2 separate regions of the Homo sapiens genome follow, and region 1 is linked to region 2. The links are contacts of gene promoters, found by promoter capture Hi-C in blood cells and fetal thymus (Javierre and others, 2016). All regions are on one chromosome and are shown on one strand. The core of a region is centred on a gene start or on the middle of the fragment in contact, and the rest is flanking DNA. Distances in the headings are between cores, read along the strand shown. Region 1 has its middle 49 kb from the start of ISM1. Region 2 holds the start of ISM1 (isthmin 1).

Region 1 (5,135 bases), core at 1,052-3,551, 49 kb after region 2:
TCTTCTGAGGAACTGAAACTAGAGGCGCATGCCACTATGCCTGGCTAATTTTTTAAATTTTTTGTAGATATGGGGTTTTACCACGTTGCCCAGGCTGGTCTTGAACTCCTGGGCTCAAGCGATCTATCCACCTCAGCCTCCCAAAGTGCTGGAATTACAGGCATGCGCCACCACACCCTGCCTGGAATATCTTAAGAGTATAATTCAAGATCATTATAATGAGCCTAAGACAATTTTCAAATTATTTTTTAAGCTTTGGTTAACTAAATGTATGTTCAAGTTGCCTCTCTCTCATTTTGAACTTTTCTTCTTTAATGTATAACATCTATTTAATCATGAACTTCAGAAGTATAAATTTAAAAGACCTGAACATGCCCATGGGATGTGATGAACAATAATTTTCTAAAATCAGACCTGTAAATTCGTACTTCTACAAGGTGAGAACCTACCATATGTAAATTTCATTTTCACATCATTCACATATATACACATTGAAGGCTGGACGTGGAAATGAAGAACGGCACTGGGGATGGGGCAGGAATGAATTGTTGTGCACACTGTTATTTTTAGTGGCTCTCTCTTCTAGTCCTTAAACTGTCACAGAAGAATAGCTTTGAACAAGCTACAAAATTCTGAAAGGTCACAACCCAGGAAGGCAGAGACTCCAGGAACATGCATCAGGGAAGGTGCAGATGGATAAACAAGCCATAAAGTGCACCATATTTTTTCTTTTCCAGCATTTCACCAAAGAGTTGACTCCAGGCTATTACCCTGTGAAAGTGAAATTTTAAAAGAGGCAATTCCAAACAAACCTACACCAATCCCCAGTTGGCTCACTTTCACCATCACTAATGAAACCCAGGAGGGTCTTGAAGTGAGGTGTGACAATGTGAGAGGCAGAGCAAAGATCACAGAGGTGAGAAACCTATCACCTCTGTTTTCATATCCTGAGGAGCATATGGGCCAGACTTAGCATGCCCATGGTTCTTGTGGCCAGGACAGCAGATGGACAACCACTGCTGTAACGCCCCCTCCTCCAGCCTAGCCCATCCATTTCAAAGGTGCCTTTGCTGAGAGCATTCACATCTTACAGCCACCTTGTACACTGTGAACAGAAGTAAGCATATCTTTCCTGAGGAACTAGGTGAGTGCATCCATACTTGATAAGAATGAGACATGACGCAAGAAGTAACTGGTCTAACCTGCTGACCAACTGGCTGTGTGGTCATGACTCTGGGTTCTGTAGCTGGAGAATGGATGAAGCTTATAAGATTTCATCTGTCTGATGTGAGTAAATGAAGTTGGTGTTGGAGCAGCTTTGGGATAGGAGGGTTACATCTCTAGGAACTAAGATATTAGGGCATTCTCTGCAGCAATTCTGCTTTTTATAGATCTCTGGATGCTCCCCTGAGATCTTGGAAATAGGGCTTGCCAGCACTCTCAATGTGTCTAAAGAGTCAGAGTTAAGTCAATCATCATACAGGGTAAAGGGAGCCCTCTTCCATGATCACTTTTTCTTTTCCCCAGGCTGAAACCTGGAGCCATAACCACACATGCAATGGCAAAGTCCTAGGGGTTGGTGGAGCCACAGGCTGGAAATAGCCTGGGTCCCTGAAACACCATGTGGAGGAGATTGCTTGGCAACCAGGGACACCCAGTGGGACTTGAGCAAAAAATTACCCATCACCTTTTGATTTAATCTACCTTAATTATCATTCCAAAATTTCTTTTCATTATACTATTATATTAATTTCACTCTTTCCTGGATACTATGTCTTTCTTTTACTTGGAAGTGTTTATTGAAGTATTCATCAAGTAATTTTTTAAAGGAAGGGTACTGAAGTAAACTTTCTGAATCTTTCATTTAAAAAAATCCCCGTTTTACTCTCCCTTTATTAGACAGACTTTTCTGGACATAGGATTTTAGATTCAAAAGTATTTTCCCTATGAATTCTGAAGGCAGTGCTTTGTTGTCTTCTAGTATCTGGTATTGCTGATGAGGTATTTACAATAGAAATAGTAGCAGGGGATTCAAACAAATGTGCAAAAGACAAATACAAGCAGCCAGTATATATATATGAAAAGAAATCACTATAAATGGACATCATTTATGAAAGAGAACCCCTTTTTATCCTATAAGATTGACAAATGTTATAAAAATAATAATAGTATTGGTGCAGATTGGAGAAATGGATAACTTATACACTGTTAACAGATGTGAAAATTGGTATGAACTTTCCATGTTTATAATATTCAGTAGTAAAAGCAATTACTTTTACCTTTTTAGGTGAAAATTTTTTTTCTAGCTGAAAACAATTTTAAGTTCTTCCCTTTATCCTTGGGATAGTAAAAATTTTATGAAGGTGTATTTAGATAAAAATCTTTTTATATTCATCCGCTTAGCACTTGCTAGTCCATTTTCATCTTCCATTTTGTTTCAGCCTCAGGGATTATAATGCTTTCTCAAGTTTTTATTAGATGGATATTGTTCCTCCTGTATGTATCCTCTTTGTCGTTTTACATTTTTTCTCATGTTTTCTATTTTTTTCTGGCCTTTGCTTTATATTCTGAGATTCAAAGATTTTTTCTTCTTTGCTTTCTATTGATTTTCACCACTTTAATATTACATATTTTTAATTTTTATAAACTCTGGGTTCCTTTACATATCAGCCTATTCTTGTTTTGTGGATGTAATTTCTTTATACAATCAGGTTGACCTACAAAGATCATAATTAGAACTTTTAAAAAGTTAACTTTTCCAGGAATTGTCTGTTTCAGTCAGTAAGATATTTCTCATTTTTTTCTCCTTGGCTACCCACTTTGGTATTGCTGGTTTTCATCAAATAACTGGTAATCTCTGGCTTTCTATTTCTATTCACAATCGAGAGCCATGTTGACTGATGTCAATACCAGTCATACTTCCTCTCTAATTCGCTATTAGAAACAATAGATGCTCAAATAATCAGTGTAACTTTTGAAAATGTTAGTTTTCATCTTACTAGAAATGGACCCACTTTAATAAAATATTTTCATTTTTCTATATTATGTACCTGTTACATTGACTGTATATAGCAGTTATAGCCTCATCTATATAGGAAATCTTTAACTTTGATTGGTCCCACTTAGAATTGTCTCATTAATACATCGCTTAAAAATCTATATTTTGAAGTTTTATTTGATAATTTTTTTAGAGTTAAAAACTCTTCATGGATATTTTGTTGAAAATATTTTAGAGGGAACTGAATTTCATTTTAAAATATTAACACATTTTTATATATGAAAGAAACCTATTTTGTTACAGGTGCTTATAATTTGTGGCTATGATTAATTGAAGCTTTACATGTATAACGTTTTTTTAAAAGACTGGTGTAAATTATATAAAATTGAGATGGACACTATAAAAATAGTTGTATGACAACCACAATTATTTACAAAACAGACACATTAAGGGGAAATCATGTATTGTTGGCAGAGATTATTTTGCCCTTAAAAGGGCAAAAAAACTGATAGACTGATTGGCTGCATCAGCCTGTTGAAAAGTTTTTATTCAAATGATGCCAGGAGCATTTTCCATGACCCCACATTGCTACCCATTCACTTTTCACACACAGAGCCTTATTCATGCTGGGGTCATAGTTAAGTTGTAGGGTAGATTGATTTCATCACAGCGAAGCCATTACACATCCTTTGGTCTTCCTTATGCCTTTAGTCCACGCATGCTTCAGATCTGGGAAAAAACCCCACACATTTGGGCTGGAGAAACAAAGCAGCAGCCATTTCCTTGCCTTAGTTCTTGGCCCATAATGAAGTAAGAGCACGATGTGATGATTGGAGCCAGACCTATCCCTGGCCATGGGCACTGCAGCCGACCCAAACCTAATTAAGAAAGATCTTGAATAAACTTGGGTGAGGGCCAAAACCACTAGCCCCTTCAATCAATACTTTTGATATAAAAATTAGCAGCTGGGCTGAATAAAAGGGAGCGCTGTTATATGCCACAGCAAAACAAAGTCTCCTTTTGCTCCTATTCTGAACTTCTGTTGTTGGATATTTTATTGGTTTGTATCTGTGATAACTTCTCAGAGCAGTTGACTTGCAAATGTCAGAATTCAGCCTCCCATTTGGACCACAGGATGCAATGAAAATTAGAATAACCAGTCCCTACATTAAACCCAGATTGGCATGGGAATCAACCTTTTCCAAATGAAACTGGTTTCACTTGTTCCCTTATTCTTGATTGAATTACTCCTGCTAATATATAACGTTTAGCTAAAATAACTTTTTAAGAAAATTGATTTGATAAGGAAGAGGATAAACATTCTAAGAAAAAACAATCTACCATCAAAGTCTTGGAAGTCCTCTTTATGCACTGTTAATCCCCTCATAACTTGAATATACTTGCCTTCCAAGATGAAGCCATTATTAATCTCTACAAGAGTACTTGGAAGATAATGTTGCAGTTCTTAATATCGTGTCTGGCATGTGGTAAGTGTCTAAAAATGATTGCTTTATTGTCCTTCAAGACACCACGTATTGACTTTAGAAATAATTTCTAGTTTTAATCCAGGGAATTTACATGCAGGCTATACAATAGGGAAAGAAAAGGTTAACATTTGACTCCTTTTGATGCCTTTGTTATCCTGAAGACTTATCTTTTAATGAGGTTGAAAAGAAGAATAAATTAAGACACCCCTTCCTTTTAGAGATACTCAGTAAAATGTTTACTGATAATATGATTTCTGGGATGTGCTTCAAAGCAATCTGGTGAGAGAGGGAGTGAAATGGGTTGGGGAATAGAAGAAAAGACTGGCCATAAATTGGTAATGTTTGAAGCTGGGTAATAGGTGCATGTGGGCTCATTATACTATTCGATTTTACGTATGTTTAACATTTTCTGATATAAAACTTTAAAAAAAATGGATCAATTAGAAATCATTTAAAAAATAATAAATCACAGCTGAGTCCCTTCCCAGGCATTGTTGTCAGCTCAACAGACCTGCCCAAGGTAATGCCTGGCCCCACACCTCTACTGATAGCTTGCATCTGGCATCCTTGTCATTTTGACTTGACCCTAAAGGACCATCTCAGTTGCCCAGTTTCCATGGAATTGGCTGAGGCCTTTGCTATGATAACAT
Region 2 (4,654 bases), core at 717-3,216:
TGGGAACAATGAATAATGCTTATTTCATTTTATTTATTTATTTATTTATTTTATTTTATTTTATTTTATTTTATTTTTTTTTTGAGACGGAGTCTCGCTCTGTCGCCCAGGCTGGAGTGCAGTGGCGCGATCTCAGCTCACTACAACCTCCCGGGTTCAAGCAATTCTCCTGCCTCAGCCTCCCGAGTAACTGGGACTACAGGCGTGCGCCACCACGCCCAGCTAATTTTTGTATTTTTAGTAGAGACGGGGTTTCACCATGTCGGCCAGGATAGTCTCCAACACCTGGCCTGAGGTGATCCACCCGCCTCTGCCTGCTAAAGTGCTGGGATCACAGGCGTGAGCCACCGCGCCTGGTTTGAGCAGATTTTAGGAGCCAGAGAATCCCCTCTGCCTCCTGGGAAAATCCCTGCTTGCTTTTGCCTATGCTCCAAGTTTACAGTTGTCCCACCCCTAGACTCAAGGAAAGGCGCTAACATAGCGGCAGGAAATGCCTAGCTGGGCAATTCTATTCCTAAGTCAGAACTCACATTATGTCTGACCGTCCACTACGCCCTCTCCTTGCCCTGAAGTTGAAATGGATAAACAGAATCCCATTGCTAAAGCGACCTTCAACGGGGAAGATCCTTGGGAGAAAGACTTTGCTACAAGTTTAAAAGCCCCAGGTAACCCTGGCCCAAATCACTACCGGTGCCTTCACTCTGCACCTTCCCCATGACCAAGGGGGCACAAGGGGGGAGGGGGGAACCTCAGGCGAGGCTCCCGGAGGAAGAGGAACACTGGAAGCAAGGGAACCCTGAGGGTGAGGAGGGGATGCCTGGCTATTCTCCTTGGGAAATTATGTCCTGACCTTTGGCATTGCTTCCTAAAGGGGTAGACTCCCGGAGTTCTTTCTCCCAAAGACTTCAGGGATATCATCCTATAAAGTCTCCTTGCGTCCCTCCAGCCTCGAGTAACATTACTCAGCCTCCGAAGGGCAACGAAAGACTGGTAGCACCCCCAAGCAAGCACATTCTCCACACTTCCTCTGCTCATCCCAAACCTCGCTCCTTCCCACCTCCCCACCAACCCCGCACCTGACCCGTGACAGACAGAACTGAAGGAGCGCAGCCCGCAGACCTGGAAGCCGGGTGCAGCCTCCAGGCACGTGCCCCCGCTCCGCCTCTGCCTAAGTCAAGTGGCCCGGGCAAAACTACTGCCAAAACAGTTGCTCTTAGGTGGGGCAGGGGACCTGCCTCCCTGCATCCACCCGGCACTAGCTCAGCACCCCCGCCCCACAAACCGTCCCCGCAGCCGCGCACGGCCCTCTCCGGCGGCGCACTCACCTGCAGCTGGGCTTGGCTGGCGTTGCCCGCGGCCGCGTCGGGCCCGTCGGCGGCTCCCGAGCCGCGCAGCACGGTGATGTGCAGCGTGAGCAGCAGCAGCCCCAGCAGCAGCAGCAGCTCGGCCGCCAGGCGCACCATCCTTTTGAGACGCGCGGCTTTAGGACCCGGCGCGGCGGCCGGCGGCGGCGGCGGTGACGCCGGGGGAGGAGGAGTAGGAGCCCGGGAGCCCGGCAGCGCGGCTCCCGCCTCGGCTCCCGCCAGGGCTCCGCTTCCCGGGCCCGCGGGGCTGGCGCTGGGCGCGGCGGGGTGTGCGGGGCCGGGGGAGCAGGAGCTGCCGGCGCCGCCGCCGCCGCCGCCGCCGCACCACGGCGGAGCCACCGCGAGGCCGGGGGTGTCCAAGCCGGCTGCGGAGCAAGCCCCGGCGCTGCCTGGCGGCGGCGGCGGCGGAGACGGAGACTGGGTCCCGGGACAGCCCGGGACCCGGGCCGGGCCGGAGGCCACCCTGCTGGCAGGGGGCTGCGGGGTCGGCGGCGGGGCGGGCGCAGCCGAGCCCCCGAGCGCACATGGGCGCCCCAGATGTGGCCGCGGCGCCGCAGCTGGAGCGGGAGCGGCCGCCAGAGAAGCGCGGGGAGGAGGAGGAGGAGAAGGAGAAGGAGGAGGAGGAGGAGGAGGAGGAGGAGGAGGAGGAGGAGGAGTAGGAGGGCTTCAGCTGCGGCCGGGAGTTACCTCCACGCTTGGCGCCCCCGCCCTCGCCGCCCCGAGCCACTCACCCGGCAAGCCACCTCCACTACTCTCCGCGCTCCTCGGGGCCGCCTGCCGCGCCGCCCCGCACTCGGAGTCCCGGGGAGGGCCGGTTCCAGATGGGGGCCCCGGGCACACCGAGGTTGTCACGGTTTGGCGGTAGCCGGGGCGCCCTCGGCGGCAGCGTCAGCCTGCCGGGCTGTACCAAGTGCCCGCTGCCGAGGTCGCTGTGACGGGCGCGGGTAGAGCCCTTGTGCACACTGAGGCTCGGGGCTGTGGGTGGGTGGGGTGGTGCCTGGGCTGCTTTAGAAACCTTTATTGGCAAACTGGAGCTGGAGTTGCAGTGATGGAAAACGGAGGGGGCGCCGGACAAGCCATGCGTCTGCCTGCGACCCCTGCCTGAAGCAGTCGGGGGAGAGGAGGAGTGCCAAAGTGTCGTTCCGAAGGGTCTTGACACTTGCTGGGCCGCCCGCTAGCCGGGCACGGCTGTTCGCGGATCCGCGGCGCCCCGTAGAGCCTGGGAAGGGAGGGGAGTCCGACTCTCTAGGCGTTCGTCTGGTCACGGGCGCAGGTGTTGGCTGGAAGCTGCAGAGACGCAGTGCCCGCGGCTCAGGCGCTCAGGAACTCGGAGTGAATCTCAGCTCTAGTGGGCTTGCCTCTGTGGGGGGCTCATCCCGGGGGTGCCGCGCCCAGAGGGGATTTGGGGGCTGGCGTCGCGCAGCTGTCGATCCCGGGCCACCGCCTCATGACCGCGCTGCAGCCTCGGGCTCCCGCGTGCGGCTCATGCCTTGCAGTGGGCGGTTGGCGAATGGAAGGGCTCTGGGATCCGGCTGAGGGCGCGGAGTCCGAGCGTCAGATGCTAGAGCGAACTGTGTCGGTCCGTGGCACCGCGCACTTCCCTCCTTGACCTTGCTCGGGCTCCCGCCTTACCGAAGTGACTCGGAGTAGCGGACGCTCAGTCCGGCCGGGACTTTTATACTGCGCTTCCCCTCCTCCTACCCGTTCCCTCCCTTCCTCCTCCCCAGCGCCGGCCCAGCCCTTCCCTCCCAGCGAGCCAAGACCTAGTCCACGCGTTCGCACACAGCCGCGTCGCACATTTCCAAGCCTTTCCCGCGTCCCGGACCCCAGTGCCTCCGGGATGGAGCCTCCGAATTCTCCCTTGGTGAATGAAATTAAATAAATAATCAACTCTTTCTTGACGGCACGCCTCCCTTTCCCCCTCCCCAATTTCCTACCTTCCTTCTCCGCGTCCTAGAAAGATTTAAGATTCTTAATTCAACTGCTTTCGAGTTCTCGCAAGGCATCTCAACCAAGTATTAACCAAATTAAGGCAAACCCTTGCGCCTTTGCGAAGGTTCCTCCGGTCACCGCGGTACTTTGCAGAATTTAAATAGCGGTAGTTAAGGTAGGGTCTGCTGGTTGGGCTTATTTGTGCCCGGGAGAGGAAGGGCTTGCTGCCTCCTTAAAGATGCCTGAAGCATCTTTAAAATTCTAACTAACTCCAGCATCTTATTAATAAATTGGCAGCTGTTTATAGAGTCTGCTATATTTTTTCCTTTTCATTATTTTTTTTTGGGTGGGGAACGGTGCGAGGGAGGAGGGGAGATGTTTGGAGGGGTGCTTGCTTTGGATTTTTAGGCAGCCGGGCCTGTCAGACATCTTATTTCTATCTCTAGGCTCTAAAATGCCAATAATTGTCACTGGAGTGCGGGTCGGGGGGAGTGGGGGGAAACGCGAAACAATAACCGTCCGTATTTCAGATGGGAGATCAAAGAGGGGATCCCAGCAGCTTTTAAATCCTGGAAGGATCCTCCTGTGTGTTTTCTAATTAGGATCACTTAAAAGGGAAAGGGCTGGAGAATCAGCGCCGAAATAGAATGTATAAATTAAGATGGCAAACTAGAATCCCACAGCCAAAGAGTTTTAAGGATTGTTCTAACCTCCAGTTGTGCCAGATTATGATACGGGCTCGCAGGAACAAATGACTTTCCTATTGCCAGAGGCAGGCTGGTCTGAATTAGGATCCAGGGGCCGCTGTGTCCTGCCCTTTCATCACACACAGTCTCCACATGTAAACCTCAGCTGCTTCTCCTCTCATCTAAAAGTAACAGTTTTGGACCCAAGGCAAAAATGACCTTTAAAAAACTCTGGAAAGAAACCTTTGCAATGAATGTAAATTCTTGTAAAATAATTTGTAAATGGAGATTTGGAGATCAAAGTCTTTGTAAAATGTTGTAAAAATTGTAAATTGAATTTTGGGGACAGATGTCTTTATAAAATGTTGAACAAATGTATGAATGAATCCTATTAAAATCCCTTCACGCTGAGAGATCCCCATTCCAGGTGAATTTATGTTCCAGTAAGCACATATAACGAGTATTGATAAACACCCACGCTCTGATTCCAGTTGCCGAACCAGGCTTGCCAGCAGGGCTCTGTTTTTGAGTTAGGGAACACGGGCTTACAATTTTTGTGGAAAAACAATTACAAATTTAATAGACTAAACCAATTAAGTTTCAAGCACATTTATGAAATTGTACCAATAGCTGATAAAAATGTTTAAAATCCTACCTCCTTCAGCAGAGCGT

Evidence for each region. Contacts are between HindIII fragments. The CHiCAGO score rates a contact against its expected background, and 5 or more counts as called.
Region 1: a contact is called between a fragment that was not itself captured here and the fragment with the promoter of ISM1 in region 2, in 1 of 17 cell types (naive CD4 T cells). The highest score is 5.1, in naive CD4 T cells.

Annotation. Positions count from the first base shown.
Region 1 is chr20:13,169,463-13,174,597 of GRCh38, reverse strand. It overlaps a transcript of TASP1 not described here. Among named protein-coding and RNA genes, the nearest start is that of ISM1, 49 kb to the left of the region's middle. The HindIII fragment of the contact is 2,071 bases long and covers 1,266-3,336 here.
Region 2 is chr20:13,218,586-13,223,239 of GRCh38, reverse strand. ISM1 (isthmin 1) reads right to left here and starts at 1,966. Exons shown (of 6, transcript NM_080826.2): 1 at 1,326-1,966. The coding sequence starts at 1,463. It also overlaps a transcript of TASP1 not described here. RefSeq lists silencers at 1,535-1,604, 2,064-2,183. The HindIII fragment of the contact is 8,964 bases long and covers 1-4,654 here.